2 separate regions of the Homo sapiens genome follow, and region 1 is linked to region 2. The links are contacts of gene promoters, found by promoter capture Hi-C in blood cells and fetal thymus (Javierre and others, 2016). All regions are on one chromosome and are shown on one strand. The core of a region is centred on a gene start or on the middle of the fragment in contact, and the rest is flanking DNA. Distances in the headings are between cores, read along the strand shown. Region 1 holds the start of FOXN4 (forkhead box N4). Region 2 holds the start of SVOP (SV2 related protein).

Region 1 (3,101 bases), core at 341-2,840, 290 kb after region 2:
ACATGAGGCCTAGAAGAAACCTTAAGATCATCTACTTCAACAAGATCAATTAAATGATGAGGAAGTGAGGCCCAGGGCAAAGGACTTGCTGAATGTCACACAGCCTGGCTGAGAACTTAGCATATCTGACTACTTTCTTAACATCTGTGGAGGATAGAACCCAATTCCTCCCAGAAGGTTTTTTTTTGGCAGGGGGTGGGGGAGCATTTCCCACAGCCCCCATTAAGGCCACTGGAGGGGAAGCAGTAGCTGCTATTGTCATCTTAACATTCACCAGGATGCCCAAACAGTATCAAATGCAGAAACGGACCTCTTTTGGAGGGGACAAGAGACAGCAGGCATTTCGTGGTCCCACTGGGCCAGGTTGTGGCCCAGACACCCTTAGCAAGACCAACATTGAAATCAAGACTTTCCAGCTCTCCCGCAAAAATCACAGAATTGAACATAACAATAGTTCTTGGGCAGTTTCAGAAACCATAAACAGCATACAAACACTTTGAGCAATTAAAAAATATATAGTTTGTTATTGTTGGAGCCCTCACCTGTATTCCTGTGGAGAGGGGTGGTGATTTTGCCCTGAGTTTCGAATAATTCCTGACATTATGGATGAGGTGTCACTTTCTATCATCTCCTTGGGAAAAGACAAGCAGAAAACAAAGCTCCCATCAGCGACGATATGGACAGGGCAGAAACCCACAGTTTTCCCGCAATTCAGAAAGATGGAGCACAATCAACTCACAGAACACTTTTTTTTTCTTTAAAGAAAAAAGTTCTAGAGGATTCCTGGGCATCTCAGGTCACTTTCCCAGGGCAATTCTACAGCGTTTTAGAAACAAATGAAGAGAATGAAATGAAATTCCCGGTTCTTTCGAATTAATGGGGGAAGAGCAAGGGAAGCTCTAGAATCCAAATGTCAAACCTGGAAAATGTGGACTCACAAAATAGGAATCAGAAAAACGATTTCCTTCCAAGCCTTATATTTTCAACCTCAGTTTGGTTATGATCACTTTCAAAATAAGGGGCAGCTGGATGTGACATGTGTATTTCTCTGGGGGAACAAATTCCCACTTGCAAAGGGAATAATCCCCGCAAGCTCCTGCCCTGAAATGCCTTCAGAAATGCCACAAGCCCTTACTGGAAAACCAATCCAACCACCCACGTCCCCGCAACACACAAACACTGCCTTAAAAAAATAATAAAAATATTTGAGTTCCCTAAGTTTCTCAAACTCCAAGCCTGAACCAACATAAAAGCCCACCAAAGCCTCAGTTCCGCCCCCAAAGCCATCGAAGGATTCCCAGGAAGGAGGAAAAGGGAGCAGAGGGAGGCGGCCCCGCAGCCCCTGCGCCCGGGTCTCTACCCTGGAAATGCAATGCCCGGCATTGCCCGGGAGGAGGGAGCAAAGCCGACCCTGCAAGGCGGTACCTGGAGCCGATCCTCGCGGGGCCGCCGCTGCCGGCGCTCCGGGGGTGGGCAGGGGTTCCGGAGGGGGGCTCCCTCGCGCTCGCCCCTCGCGTTCCGCAATTTGGCCGCCGTCGCAGCTCGAACCGTTTTTAAATTTCCCTCTCTGGAGCTGTCCAGCTCAGAGCATGCGCAGTAGCCGTGCGGGGGGCTTTTCCCCAAGGGTCAGTTACAGGGCAGGGTCAAGGGGATTGCAGCGGGCGTTTCCCAGCAGCCGCGAGCCTTGCACGCCCCGGGGTTCTGGGGGGGGGGTGTGTGTGAGGGGGGCGGGGCGGAGGAGTGCAGGGGTAGGGACCCCTCTTCAAACTTTGCCAACAGTGACAACAACTGCATGCCCGAGAGCATGCGTTGAGGAGCAGTGGGAGGGTGATTTCGGCCAAGGGAATTAAGTTGCAAAAGGAGGCTGGGTGCATTAAAACTTGCAATCCCGCCTGGGGCAAAGGACGTGGGCGGGCGGAGAGATCTGTTGCAACCCCCTCTCTCCCCCAAAGTGGAGGACGGGCCGGGAGGCAGAGACGGGGCCCCAGGTGGACGCGGATTCGGTCCACCTGTCCCTTTAAGAAAGTTGCGCCCGCGCGGGCTGGCGCGCAGCGGGAGGGGGCTGCGGAGCGGGGCGCGGGGCGCCTCCACCTGCTGGGGCCGCGAGGGGGGGCCCGGGCCCAGCGCGGCGGCGAGGCGAGGAGGGCTCCCCGGGACTGCGCGCTGCGCCCCCCTGTCCCGCGAGGAGGGTGAGCCCGCCCGGAGCGAGTGCGGCGGGGCTCGGCGGCCCCGGCAGCCGCGACGACGGCGACGGCGGTGGCGGTGGCGGTGGCGGCGGCGGCGGAGGCGGAGGCTGCGGCGTTCGGGGTACGGCGCCGCGAGCCCAGCGCAGCCGTTGGGGGCAGTGGCCCGCGTGTGCAACCGCGCTCCCTCCCTTCCCCGCCGCCCGGCCCGCGCCGCCGCTGCCCCGCCCCGCCTGGAGCCAGCCGCGGGAAAGGTGGCGCGGACCGCGGACGGCGGCGGGGCCCAGAGCGGGCAGAGGTCTCCACAGGCCCCTTAGGAGGCTTGGATGAGTTTGGTCCCCTGGAAAGTTTGCGTTTCTGGCGCCCTAACTCTCAAGCCTCCGTTGCAGTAATTGCCACGGCAGCAACGATATTAGGCACGGCTACCCCCATTCTTTCGTTACTTATTGACGCCTGCTTCTGGGTTCTTCTTCGCATCAGCCCTTGATGACATAGCATGGTCCTCCTTTTGCATGGGGGGAACCCAAAGCCCCGAGCGGCAGTGAGTGGGTCGGCGGCGCACGGGCAGAGCGCGGGCTCCCGCACCTCCCCAGCTCGCGTACTGCACGTGGACCTCTGCGCCGCCCCCACCGAGTGAGGCTCAGGCACCCGAAGCGTCTGGAGTTGTTTTGAGGCTGTCCTCGCGTTATCTACTTCGCAGCAGGCAGGGGACCAGTGTCCCCGCACCTGTGACTGTTTTTTTTTTTTTAAACCCAGTGTTTAAGTTCAGGAAGAACTCAGGGCTCCCCTGGACTGGGTGTGCCTGGATTTCAAGTTCTATTCAGGTGGGCTGTGACCTTGGCACTGGTCCATGTCCTCACAAATGGTTTTCTGGTAGCACCTGGACGTCCTTCCTCCTTTCTTCTCTGCCAGGAGTAA
Region 2 (2,886 bases), core at 256-2,755:
GTATGTTTTCCTTGGGAAATTTGTAATCAGACCTTTACATTTTTATGTACTGTTATATCTACGTCTGGATATTATTACTGAACATCCTCTAGCATTTGTGAAATAATGCTGTATTACATAATCAGATATACTATTTGTGGATCAATTAGTAAAACTTTAAAGCAAATTTTAAATTAATTAAAAATTTTGGTGAAAACTAATTTTACTCTGATTGAAAAGTAAACATTACAATCCCCTTCAGTACTCACAGCCTCAGAGAACTGTATCAGTCACACTAAAAGTCACTTGGGAGAATTCCTCAGTAGATTATAGAAAAAAATAATCCACCATTTTTAAAATCAAGAAAATACACACACACTAACTATAATTTATCCTTTCTAACAATCCCAAAGGGAATCTACTCTTACCACTCAAATGGCTAGTGCTTCTAAAAATTAAAACAACCCCTGCCCCACCAATGTTCTTTTTAATGCCCCCTCTCATACTCTTGGAATTTACTTAACAAATCACTATCTGCTTGTGGTAGGAAAAATCTGTAAGCCCCTCTACAAGGCCCCTGTCCTTTCGGTTGCTTGATATTTCCCCCAGATTCTCAGAGCAAATTTGGTTTTTCTTAAAAATCGCCATCCTCAAAGCAGTATATTCCTGATGTTCCGACAGTGAGTCTCACTCTAGCTAGCTGCTACAAAAACCTTTCATTCAGAAGAAGGCAAGAGGTTTCACCGACCGTGCACAGCCCTCTCATTCACACACTTCATAAACAACAGGACTTTGCCCAACCCTCTCCTCTAGGAAGGCATCCCAGTTTTTTTTATCAACCAGTTTGCAGCATCAGTATCATTCCCTTCCAAAAGACCTTGCAGAAAAATTATGGATTTCACAGCATAGGATTAGGGCTGGAAAGGACCGATGTCATTGCATAGACTCACCAATTCTGTCCACATTTCAAAACAGCAGCTAATGCTTTCTTAAAGCTCACATCTGAAAATCCTTTTAGGATTGAGAGCAATTAAAAGGGGAATCATAACCCCCGTGGTTCCCCCATAAGGTCCTGACAGATCTGATAAATGGAACTGAGTCAGAGATACAGAGGCTGGGCTGCTGGGGAAAGAAAATGGCTTGTCTCCTCCAGGCCCTAATTCCTTCCTCTGAAACAGTTCCCTTTAAATTCAAGAAACCATGCAGAGATGTACCCCCCCCCACCCCCCTTGCAGGTTTTCGTTTTTTAAAAGAAAGCCTGTCTGCCTCTTGCTCGCCCCCATGATACTCACGGCAGCTGCCTTAGCTGGAATAAGTCCTCCTCCATGTCCGCGCTGCGCCAGGATGAGCCCTTCTCATGGCCCTTACATGGTAGTGGTGGATGACGAGCCCTCCGGTTTTCAGCACCGGGAAGCTGGACAGCACCCGCGCCGCTTCCTCCCTGGAGCAGCAGCTGTTCGGGGAGGGAGCCGCTGGGGACCAGCCCACGAGACAAAGCCTCCGCCGCCAGGAGACCGCGGCGAGAGTGGGCGGAGAAGAGGAGGCGGAGGGCAGAGCGAGCTGCGCGGGGAGAGGGGGCAGGGAGAGCCCTTCTGCTTGGAAGAGTTCACAGGCTCTCTGGCTGATGGTGTATCACTGGGATGCCTATAGGGCACACCAGTCTGTGAAATGGTTGTCCGGGTACCAGTGAGCACCCTTTGATTGACGATGCGTGTCTAAATGTTTATTTGCGTGGATTCATTAATGTTATCCGTATAACACTCTTGAAACCCAGGCTGCTGTAACAAATACAGGCATGCATTTAAGTACGGTTTACTGAGCACCTATGTGCCAGGCACTGTAATAGGCACTGGGGGTATGACAGAACAAATTCGACCTGTCATTGTCATCGTGGAGCTAAGGGTCTAGTGAAATGAATCAAGAAAAGAAAAATGTAAATTAGGTATGAGAAGGCCAAAGATCACTCATTCTTTCAACAAGCGTTATTGGGTGAATTCTACAGCCCTGACCCTGGGGAATAAAAACATGAGTAAAATAAAGTCTCTGCCTTCAAGATCCTAGATAGTTTAATGGTTCCCCTAAGCCACCTCTCACTAGAATTTCTGACCCCTTTAGAACTTAAGCTCCATGAGGTTTCACTGATGTGTCCCAAGTACTAGAACAGTGTCTGGCACATAGAAGGTACCCCATAAATATTTGTTGAATAAATGGTTCTCAGTTCAGGCTGCATATAAGAATTGCCTGGCTCCATTTCAAACCAATTGAACTCAACTCTCGGGAGGTGGAGGCCAAGCCTGGGTATTTTTTATTTTTTCAATATTTATTTATTTATTTTTGAGACAAGTTCTTGCTCTGTTGCCCAGGCTGGAGTTGCAGTGGCATGATCATGGCTCATTACAGCCCCAACCACCTGGGCTAAAGCAATCCTCCCACCTCAACCTCCCTAGTAGCTGGGATCACAGGCTCATCCCAGCATACCCAGCTAATTTATTTATTGTAGAGATGGGGTCTTGCTTTGTTGCCCAGGCTGATCTAGAACTCCTGGCCTCAAGCAATCCTCCCATCTCGGCCTCCCAAAATGCTGGGATTATAGATGTGAGCCATTGCGCCCGGCCTCAGGGTATTTTTTAAAAGCTCCCCAGCACCATGAAGTGGAAACCCCTGATCAAGTGTGAACAAATGAAAAGAAAAGCTGGAAAATTATACAACAGAAAACTACTAAGATGATCCATGATGGCAACTGGCAAAAGCTATGAGAATGACCGTTGAATGGACACTTACAAGGAACTAAAGGAAGAAGGAAACATTTTTTTCTTTTTTTCTTTAATTGTTGACAAAGGGTGGGGGAAGTTGGAAGAGGGAACAAGAAAACCAATCTGAGAACTGAAAACAATCTCACATCGAATC

Evidence for each region. The method cuts DNA at HindIII sites, captures the fragments that hold promoters and counts their contacts. A CHiCAGO score of 5 or more calls a contact.
Region 1: the fragment with the promoter of FOXN4 here is called in contact with the fragment with the promoter of SVOP in region 2 in 9 of 17 cell types (total CD4 T cells, erythroblasts, activated CD4 T cells and 6 more); the score reaches 9.3 in total CD4 T cells.

The regions. Positions count from the first base shown.
Region 1 is chr12:109,307,694-109,310,794 of GRCh38, forward strand. It overlaps FOXN4 (forkhead box N4), which reads right to left and starts at 1,591. Exons shown (of 10, transcript NM_213596.3): 1 at 1,426-1,591; 2 at 543-631. The coding sequence starts at 628. It also overlaps a transcript of MYO1H not described here. The HindIII fragment of the contact is 5,817 bases long and covers 1-3,101 here.
Region 2 is chr12:109,019,563-109,022,448 of GRCh38, forward strand. It overlaps SVOP (SV2 related protein), which reads right to left and starts at 1,506. Exons shown (of 16, transcript NM_018711.5): 1 at 1,272-1,506. The coding sequence starts at 1,306. The HindIII fragment of the contact is 11,834 bases long and covers 1-2,886 here.